Linked DNA regions of Homo sapiens: region 1 is linked to region 2. Evidence: promoter capture Hi-C in 16 types of primary human blood cells and fetal thymus (Javierre and others, 2016). All regions are on one chromosome and are shown on one strand. The core of a region is centred on a gene start or on the middle of the fragment in contact, and the rest is flanking DNA. Distances in the headings are between cores, read along the strand shown. Region 1 overlaps UNC5C (unc-5 netrin receptor C). Region 2 holds the start of STPG2 (sperm tail PG-rich repeat containing 2).

Region 1 (5,394 bases), core at 1,682-4,181, 3.0 Mb before region 2:
TATTGTATTTGTTACAGATTGTATATGGCTTTGTTTTAACATTCCCCTAAATAAAATGGCTTCATTCTCCCCTTGGAAAAAAACATGACTGTTATGTTATAGTTGTGCTTATTTATTTATTTATTTATTTATTTATTTATTATCTTTGAAAATATCCCATTGTAGCAGGTGGGAAGGCACCATGAAGGAGGCAGATGCAGGTAAGTTTTTCACATTTCATGGCAGGAGGACAAGAGAAATGGTCTGATGGCTTCTACTTTCTTTGTGAAGGAAACACAGTCATCTACTGAGAGTGAGGGGAAAGGCAGGGAAGTCAGTGGTTTAAGAGAAGTGAAGAAGGTTTAAAATTGCACTGGAAAATTACAGCTTGATGGGGAAAGAGCCAGATGGTTACGGGCAACTCTGAGGGCCAGGTTAGGCTTCCTGAAGCTGACTGTGGCACAGTGGCCAAGCGTAGACTTGGGACTGCCAGGTGGCCTGTTGGTGTGAATCCAGCTTCCCTCACTCCCTCAGTTGTGTGACTGGGCACATTTTGACCTCTTTATCATGCAAATGCAGCAACAGGTCATGGAAAGTAAGAATTATTACTATCAAGGGGCTGATGGGCCAGAGGAGGGAAGGAATTAATTAGAGGAGCTAACAGACCAACAAACAAACAAACAAACGAACAAAAAACCCAGGTCCCAGGACAGGGAATCCTGATGGGGCGGAGGTGGTATCTCCGCAGTTACTGAGAGAGGGGCTGTGGTCAGTTTCTTCCCCTTGAAGATGTTTCTTCCCCTTGAAGATGAGAATGATGTTAATATCCACTATCTGGAGTTGTTCTGAAGATGAAATGACATAATCCATGCACCAAGCATGTGGTAAGTGCTCAACTATAGTATTAACAGAAATTCATAGTGCCACTTTTCTTGTGGTTTATGATTTTTTTTATCTTTTTGTCAGCAACCCAAATACAGGTATAGAGACAACGAAGATAGGATTCATTCAGGGTACTGGTTTATCATGCAAACGCAGCAACAGGTCATGGAAGGTAAGAATTATTACTATCAAGGGGCTGATGGACCAGAGGAGGGAAGGAATTAATTAGAGGAGCTAACAGACCAAAAAAAAAAAAACAAAAAACAAAACAAAACAAAACAAAAACCCAGGTCCCAGGACAGGGAATCCTGATGGGGCGGGGGCGGAGGTGGTATCTCCACAGTTACTGAGAGAGAGGCTGTGGTCAGATTTCAGAGGGGGAGCAGCTGAGAGTGTGATCGCAGGAGGGGGTGAATTTAATTCATAGGCAACATTGTTGGTGATGAAAGAGGAACCCAAATCCTGGCCTTTAGATTTGTTGTCTTCGTGGATTTTGAAGGTGGCAGTCTTGGGAGAGGAAGGTTGTGAGGCAAAATTCTCCAGTGCCACAGGAGAATGGGAAGGGACGCAGGCAGTGAGAGGCAGAGAGAGGGGCTGGCCAGCTGAGCCGGGAGGCCTGACATGCAAAGCATTGAGTTTTTAATGCAATAATCTGGAATCAGCAGTTTTGTATGAGAAAGACCCCACCTGCCTCCCAGCTGTGGAGTATTTGAGATGTGGAAGGAGGAGGCTGTTGCTGCTGCCCCTGAATTGTCACCTCTGCGAAAGGGGAGGGAATGTGTTAGGGCTATTGTTCCAAGCATTGTGGACCCTGGAGGGCAGAATGAGAAGTTTGGTTTGTGAGGGGATCCATTGGAGATTGGATCAGGACCAGGGAAGCCCAAAATTGTCTGGGGAGTGGAGAGTGCAGGAAGGTTTGCGTCTGACGCAGAGAGAATGAAGAGTTTGCGTGAGATTGGTGGTGGTTAGCCAGCTGCACTTGTGTCAAAAGAGTGCATCCTGATGCTGGAATTCAGACTGACCTGCTTAAATTCCACCATTTTCCACTTTTTTCATTCTTTGGAAGTACATAATCTGAGCCCAGTCTTCCCACCTGTAAATTCCCACCTCTTCGCGCTCTTGTGAGGAACCAATAAGATGAGTGTCTGAATTATGTGAGGGCCCATGCCAGGTACATCACAGGTGCTCAGAAATACTGCTCTTTCCCCTTTCTTTCTTTTCTTTCTTTCCTTCCTCTGTTTTCTTTTTTTTCTTTCTTTCTTTTCTTTTCTTTTCTTTCTTTCCCTCCCTCCCTCCCTCCCTCCCTCCCTCCCTTCCTTCCTTCCCTCCCTCCTTCCTTCCTTCCCTCCCTCCCTTCCTCCCTCCTTCCTCCCTCCCTTCCTCCCTCCTTCCCTCCCTCCCTTCCCTTCCCTTCTTTCTTTCTTTCTTCTTTTTCTTTTTTTCTTTCTTTCTTTCTTTTTTTTTTTTGACAAGGTCTCACTCTGTCTTGCCCAGGCTGGAGTGCAGTGGCATGATCATAGCTCACTGCAGCCTCGATCTCCTGGGCTCAAGTGACTCCCATCTCAGCCTCCCAAGTAGCTGGGACTACAAGCATGCACCACCATGGCTGGCTAATTTTATGTTTAGTAGGGACAAGTCCTCACTATGTTTCCTAGGCTGGTCCCAAACTCCAGGGCTCAAGTGATCTCCCCATCTTAGCCTTCCAAAGTCCTGGGATTACAGGCGTGAGCCACTGTGCCTGGCCAATGCTGCTTTTTCTTCCTGCCATTAGTTTAGCAGGATCTACAATTAGCAACATTTAAAACCAGCTGAGATTTGCTATTGGTACATCTCTCCCACCTTCTGTACACCCCACTTCTGTGTGTCATGGGCTCAAGTTAAACTTTTCGCAGAACTCACAGGCATACTGACAGTAAATCTCAGCTGAGGAAAAAAGGTTATTTTGTTGGCATTGGTCATTTTGTAAGTTGCAAGCTTGTTGTCTCCATCTGGTCACAGCAGCAAAGTACAGATGACTGCACTCTCAGAAGTTTTGTCTCTGCAAAGTAATTTCTAATTTCTACCCTAGGTTCTGATCTGAGCTTAGCTGTGGGGATCTCTGGGGCTGCTGAAGGTTCTTTGCTTGGCACCTGTATGCTGGTACTGAGAGACAGGAGCAGAGGGAGGCCAAGCTTCAGAACTCTCCAGGGACCTCCACTGAGAGACAGGGGCTTAGGTTGGGCCCTCAGTGAAGTCTTTGAAAATGCTTGCATGCCATCCTAGGTAAGGCCTTCTCAGCAGGAATCTCAGCTACCAAAGCTTCTAATTAGGGGTTAGTGGTCTGGTAACAGGGCTGAGCCTTTGCCACCATGGGTTTTCTATGTAAAGTACAGTTTTTGTTTGTGTTTTATTGTTTTCATTGTATTTTCATTGTTTTATATGGAATTTGAGTTCTCTGGCTCAGCTGCAGCCCTTACATCTCCCTTTGATTTTACCCAGGTTCCAGTTTATATATTTCCATTACTTCCTTAGCCTTGGAGAAACATTTGAATTCATGATCCCAGCATGGATTGTTTTAAGTCACTTTCTTCCAGCCCATGGCATGGACCAGCTTCTCAGTGCTGGGCAATTGCTTACACCCTTCAGCCACGGAGGCTGAGGGGAGGGGTGGGGGCAGGTGGCAGTCCATCTAAGGAAGTGTCTCCAGGTCGTTCTCTCATGGAGGACAGGGCTGTCTTTGATTCTAGTCTTCAGCCTCACAGCTGCTTCGCACCTCACAGCTGGAGCCCTTGGCTTGCTCGCCCTAAGGCAGTGGCCAGCAGTCCTGTACCAAGCTGAACTCCTCTGCTGGTAGTTGCTTACCTTTCATTTCCTACCTATTAGTATAGTTGTTTGCAAGCTTCATTTAAAATCAGATCTCTGGGGGCAGGGCTTGACACTCTATTTAGAAGCTCCCGCCCCAGAGAATTCTGCAGAAGTTCTAAGACATTGGTTCTCACCCTTAACCGCTCATTAGTACCACCCGGGAGCTTTTAACACCCAAGACCCAGGCTACCCCCAGACCACTTCCATCAGAATCTCTGGAGGTGTGACCCTGGCGTTAGTTCTTAAGGCCTCTCTGGTGATTCCAGTGTGCAGCTGATTTTTTAGTAGCACCATGCTAAAACCTCATCCTGTGCCTGCAGGAGGTTGTGATCACCATCCACGCAGGACCCAAAGCCTTTCTGTCCCACCGAAGAAACACGTGGCAGCTCTGAACACGCAAGAGAACCTTGTTATTAAGTGAAGGAGGCAGCACTTTGTTGCTTATAAATATAATTTATTACCTGTTTAAAAATTCTTTCTTACATTTTGTACATGTTGGCTGACAGAATAAATGCAGGCAATTTACAAACCAAGGGGACTGCAGGGAAAATCAGGATTGGCAGCCAGGGAGAGAAAAGAGGCACACCCGGAGCTGGTATCCCTCACCTCCACCACTCAGCAAGGCGCCGGACAGATATCCGGAGGGCACTCTGCCTCTGCCGGGGGGTTTTTTTAGAAAAGGAATTGCATAGAAGATACAGCAAGAGGGAACTCCACAACAACAAAAGTGTTCCATATCGGAAAAGCCAAGGTTGTCATGTTTTGTTTAAAAAAGAAAAACGACAAAGCACAAAACCTCAATCCGACCTTTCTGCAGTTGAACTGTTCCAAAGGGGACAGTAGGTGGATGACACTGCCTCTTCAACACGACTGCTGGGGATTTTTCTCTGACAAACATTGGTGTCTTCTTTACAAAGAGCAAAGAGGAAGGTCACCAACTTGCTTCAGCTCAACATTAAACTCAACACATATAACACCATGACATCACACACACACAGTGATGTTCCCTGCAACTGGGCTCGATGCATTATGTCTGGAGGGCGAGGGCTGCGCTACCAATGGCAGATCTAGGAAAGCGTGAAGAAGAGAATGCAAATCACTTGTTCCACTGTTCTGACTGCTGTACTTTTTCTTGTCCATGGCCTGGAGGAGTAGACATCTGAGTTTTTACCCCTACATGTACAGATGCCATTTGTTACTTTCGGGATAGAAAAGGCAAAGGTATTTTACACCAGCTGTAGATTTCTTGCTCTTATATGTCACTCCGAACAGAGTTGTTTTAACATTGAGAACCTATGTAGCTCAGGTCCCCATTCTCTGATGCTGCCTCCATAGTGCTCAGGATCAGAGGCCAAAAGAGAGCCCATCAATCCTTAGGCTGCTGATCAGCAAAACCTGCCTACAATTCATCTTCTACACACCAGTACTGAGGGTTATTCCACCCCGGATCAGCGCCATCAGGTTCTACAGCTGGTCTGATAGTACTTAGTCCAGTAGACCTTTGGAACTTAAAAATGACACACAATTTAGACATATTTGTAAAAGACCCTTAAATGGTATGACTTGCAATTTATATTTTTGTTGAAGGACAAATCTGAAATGGTATGTTAAAAGGCTGGCATTCAGTAGCAAATACTATGGCAGGTGGGCAGCTGACTATATCTCAGGGTAGCTTCCTTGTTTCTACTC
Region 2 (5,140 bases), core at 823-3,322:
CCTGCTCCCTCTCTCTGAAGTCTGCTATCTGAGAGTTTCCTCTGCACAACAAAACTTGGTCTCCACAATCCTGTATCTTAACCTGAACATTTCTTTTGATGCCAGTCTTCAGATAGACTCAACCAATTGTCAACCAGAAAATGTTTAAATTTACCTATAGCCTGGAAGCCCCCACTTTGAGTTGTCCCGCCTTTCTGAACAAAGCCAATGTATTTATTAAGTGTACTTGATTAATAACTCATGCCTCCCTGAAATACATAAAGCCAAGCTGTACCCCAACCACCTTGGGCACATGTTCTCAGGACCTCCTGAGGGCTGTGTCACAGGCCATGGTCACTCATATTTGGCTCGGAATAAATCTCTTAAAATATTTTACAGAGTTTGACTCTTTTCATCAACAAGAAACATAAAAACATTTAAAGAAGGCCATGAAGGACTGCTTGGAGAGGGGGAGAAGATGATGCCCTGATTCGGCATTTAACAAATGTTTATTAGGTCCCAATCATGTTCCCAGACACTCTTCCAAGACAGTAGTTGGGAAAAAAAAAAAAAAAAAAAACAGGAGGAAATGATGTTACATTTTGGAAAGAAGTGTTTCCAAGAATAAAGTGGTCAGTTATGTCAAAATTAAGGATTGCAAAGTGTCACAGGGGGTCATTGTTAGCCATTGTTAGGGGAATTAATGCTTATAATGCCCAACTCCATTAAAATAAAGATAGAATAAGCTGCAAGAATAGTGATACCAGATACTGTGAAGCAGTACAATTCAACATGTGAAACACTGACAGAAGTCAAATTTGTACTCCACCCCAAGAAACCTAAACCTTCCCTTATCTGATCAGTTATGTAACAGAATAATGGATCCTGGCATTTGCTTGAAAATACATAGTGTAGGTATGGGGAAAATGTAGGTTAAGAAAAACTATCATTTGGACGGTATTAAGCTCCAGAAAATCACCAGAATAGAAAAAGTAGAAAGCAAAATTGATGTATTTATTTTTGACTAAGTCACTAACTGCAAACAAACGAGGAGAGCAAATATTATTTAAATTATCCATCCCCACTCCACTGGTCAAAAATATAATTTTTCTTTACAGAATGTGGAGAAAAGGGGCTCCCCTGAAGTGTGTTAAAAGAGATGAGGACGGTCAGAAAAATCTGTCTGAAAAAAAAACGGAACTATCTTTAAATAATACTGCAAAATAGAAATATAAGCTACATCTTAATAAATAAATGTCTCTGGTTAATGGGAGGAAAGATGTGAGGCAGGCAGGATTACAAAGCAACGAGACAGCGGGAGGTAAGGGCACAGGATTTGGAGACTCATATATTATGTCAACACAGCCAGGAAATCAAAATCCTAGACCTAAACTGCACAATCAAAAGTAGGATGTAGACAACTATTGCGGAATCAAAAGTCCTAGCCATATGCTCACCAGCCTTTTGAAATGGGACAAGTGATACTATCAGTCTCATCTGTAAAATAAAAGTATAGTGTTTTCCCTGCCTACTTCATGTTTTGTTATGTTTACAAAATGGTACTATTCCGCTCTATGTTTAACTCACAAGCACGCAGAAGCGGAGCAGGCTGAAGATAGGATGCCTGTCACAGGAGCTCTGCCTCTTCCTACATCTTACCTGTCGCCTGCTGCTTCAGGAAAGGTACCTGGTAGGATCCAGGACCCACATGGGCCTCAGTGCTGCCACCTTCAGCCAATTTGAGCAGGCGGGGAGCCCGATCATACATAGTGCTCGGGGTGGTGGGGGCGCTGGGGAAGGGCAGGTGCCGAAAACGATAAAAACAAGGTAGCTAGAAGTGTGGAGAAAAAGGAAGCCGACACCAGTCTGAGGAGGCCGGGAAAGAACTTCCGTAAACAGGGAAATTAGGGGTGGGGTTGTCTCCCCGCCCGCTCATTGATACCAGATTTCCTCAAATCGATTTCTAGCTCTGTGGTAAAGTAGAGGGGTGAGCGACTAGAGATTAGACGTCCCACACAATCATCAGTTTGCCAGGTGCACGCCACCAAAATTGGGTATTAGGGATTAGACGCTCGCCCCGGTGCTTCCGGCCCTGACTCCGCCCACTTCTCTCCGCCCGGAAGCCTGGGGAGGAGGCGGGCCCAGTCTCTGGGGAGGAGGCGGGCCCAGTCTCTAGGGAGCGAAGTGGAGGTGCCTTCCTGGGCCGAGCCCTCGGAGCATGCGCACCGAGCAGCCACCCTTTCCCGGCTCTTTTTACCCGGAACCCGGCGCGCCTTGAAGAAGGCAGGCCTAAACCTCGTAGCTCTTGGGGTCCCGGTAACTACTTAGGTCCCGAACTTTTTTAAGTATGCAGAAGAACCTTAGAAAACGCGTTAGGAAGGGTGAGGACTAACTTGACCTTGATCTGCTTCCCGACTCAACAGAACCTAGTAAAGAAAAATGCAGTAGCATGAAGCAGAGAGCTTGGGGTTCCGCAAGCTCTCCCCCGCTTCTACTGCAGCCCCACTCGTACTCACAGAGAAAAGGCACCTCTGATCTTAACCTGTAGATAGTCCAAACTGCTAAGACAAACCCAGGGCTCAGGGCAGTGACAAGAAATGGAGAACCCAGAAAAAAAAATAACAAATAAGATAAGGGTAAAAAAGAAAAAAAAAAAAAAAGAAATGAGGACACCAGGCAAGGAGGCGAAAAGCTCACCAACTGAAGCCGTGGAAGTGACTGAAAGCTGCCTCTTTTGTCGTATGCCAGGTAACCACAATACTGATTCATCAATATTTAAAAAGCAAAGCGAAGGCACTGAAAAAGCCCAGTCCACCCCACCAAACCAATGATTCTGAACCTTGGGCAAAAGAAACCTTGCTTGTCCTTGGGGCTTAAGGAATCTATGTCAGAATCCACCTCTGCATCTCGCAGGCTGTTTTTTCTAGCAAGAATTCTGTCCAGATTATAAATATCCTCAGAGGCTTAGACAAATCCTACCTTGATCATACCTCACCTCCAAATGGTCTACAGTACGTTAATTTGTTCCTACTACAAGTTTTTATAGTTTTCATACTCTGTAATACACGATTTGCCACTCAATCCTGTGCAACATTTACTGTGGCTTCATTGTGCCATATAGGTCGGAACCCTCTCCTTGCGAGGCTATATGCTTCTCAAGGATGTATCTGTAGTACCTTTTTTTCTGTTCAATAGCTAGCTAAATTATTTATGCACTTAAAAAACACGAATTGGCATATACTGTAGGTTCCATCCCTGCTAAGTTATGAGGATACAAAGGCATAAGAAAGTCCCTGCCCTCAGGTGTTCTCTCTCTAATGGGGAAAGAGACGTATAATCCAAAACGAGAGGTGGCAAAGATTTTTTTTAATGGTAGGAAAATGAATATTGCAATATTTTGGAAACATCTCACCAACTTCGATTCTCCCTGCATTCTGTCAGAAACCCTCATAATTCTCTCAATGTTGTTTTAACCTTATTTTCCAAGCTGCCACCTATACCCATTCAGAAGATCTAGATATTTACTATGACATATTAGAAAGAGTCACAGAGATGAAAGAGAAAAATTCATGTGCTGTGTATGATAATCCAGTGGTGCTTGTAAATTTGCCCGCTATGTCCTTAAGGACATCATTTGACCTTGATGATCCAAACAAGGATATCAACCCAAACTGCATACTCAGGTCTAGGCCATGGTTGCCGTAAGCATTGATGCAGAATTTCAAGCCCTGTCTGGCCATTCTGTCTGCAGTAGTCTACATTACTCTTTGCTTGAATATACATATTTTTGGAGATTGGAAATGGAAATGGTAAAGCTGGCTTTATATGCTTTCTGTCTGATTTGATTTTCAGCCATTGAATGTAACCTAATTTAGACAAAGGGAGTTCTTCATAGCACCCTTCCTAGCTCATTTGCAGACCTCTATGGGAGAGTTTCTGAGTACCAGCTAGGAAAACACTGTTTATTTACCTTGCCTGCCTCCTGAGTGAATGCTTTTTCCTCAAGGACTTCACAGAGATGGGTAGCTGATCAATGGCAGGACCCCAGTGTTTGTGGGTCTTCTGGCCAGATCCTACCTAAATATTACACACTGAAGTGCAACCTATATACTCTTCATAATTTGGTAATTGGTCTCTCAAAATTCTGCATTCTTAACAAAAAAAAATCTTTCTTTTAAAAGTTTCTATGAGGCCAGGTGCAGTGGTTCACACCTGTAATCCTTAATCCTAGCACTTTGGGGGGCCCAGGCAGGAGGATTGCTTGAGGCCAGAAGTTCAAGACCAGCCTGGGCAACATAGGGAGATTCCACCTGCACACACACAAAAATTTTTTTTTAATTAAAAATTAGCCAAGTAGGAATTTGAGATTACAGCAAGCTATGATGGTACCACCGCACTCCAGCCTGGAAGACAAAGCAAGACCCTGTCTTAAAAGAAAATTGTTTATGAGAACACTTGGACACAGGAGGGGGAACATCACACACCGGGGCCTGTCGTGGGGTGGGGGAAGGGGGGAGGGATAGCATTAGGAGATATACCTAAAGTAAATGACGAGTTAATGGGTGCAGCACACCAATATGGCACATGTATACATATGTAACAAACCTGCACGTTGTGCACATGTACCCTAGAACTTAAAGTATAATTAAAAAAAAAAAGAAAATTGTTTGAATTTCCTTTTCAAACAATTCAAATAGTATGAAAATTTCTATTTCCTTGATGACTGTGGCTACTCTCTATATTTCCCAGCTATTATTTCCTCCTTATGGTTCAGTAATGAGAATGGTACACAGTATTTCAAGATTGGAAAATATTTTTTAATGAGAAAAATAAATCTTTTTCATTATCTCTCATTGTAAATATTTCTTCAATAGTCTGGAATTAGTATACTAAAAAAAATATGTTAACACAGAATTATAATTACATATAAATATGAAATAATTTGGTTCAGCATTTCTCAATTCCTCCAAAAGTTTTAATGCTAATTAACCACACTATGTAAACATTTTACTGTATTAGTAATTCCATAGATGGAATTTTTGTTTGAGCTAAGATTTATTGGAGTTCAAAATTTAGGTTCTTTCCATTTCTCCCTGCTGGCTTATACCAGAATAAACTTCAAAATGAAGCTTGAACAAGAATAAGGTCCAAGAAATTAAAC

The links. Contacts are between HindIII fragments. The CHiCAGO score rates a contact against its expected background, and 5 or more counts as called.
Region 1: a contact is called between a fragment that was not itself captured here and the fragment with the promoter of STPG2 in region 2, in 1 of 17 cell types (fetal thymus). The highest score is 5.8, in fetal thymus.

Annotation. Positions count from the first base shown.
Region 1 is chr4:95,158,366-95,163,759 of GRCh38, forward strand. UNC5C (unc-5 netrin receptor C) reads right to left here. Exons shown (of 16, transcript NM_003728.4): 16 at 4,139-5,394. BMPR1B (bone morphogenetic protein receptor type 1B) reads left to right here. Exons shown (of 13, transcript NM_001203.3): 13 at 1-83. Among named protein-coding and RNA genes, the nearest start is that of UNC5C, 390 kb to the right of the region's middle. The HindIII fragment of the contact is 197 bases long and covers 2,834-3,030 here.
Region 2 is chr4:98,141,404-98,146,543 of GRCh38, forward strand. STPG2 (sperm tail PG-rich repeat containing 2) reads right to left here and starts at 2,073. Exons shown (of 11, transcript NM_174952.3): 1 at 1,639-2,073. The coding sequence starts at 1,747. RefSeq lists an enhancer at 1,800-1,899. The HindIII fragment of the contact is 14,460 bases long and covers 1-5,106 here.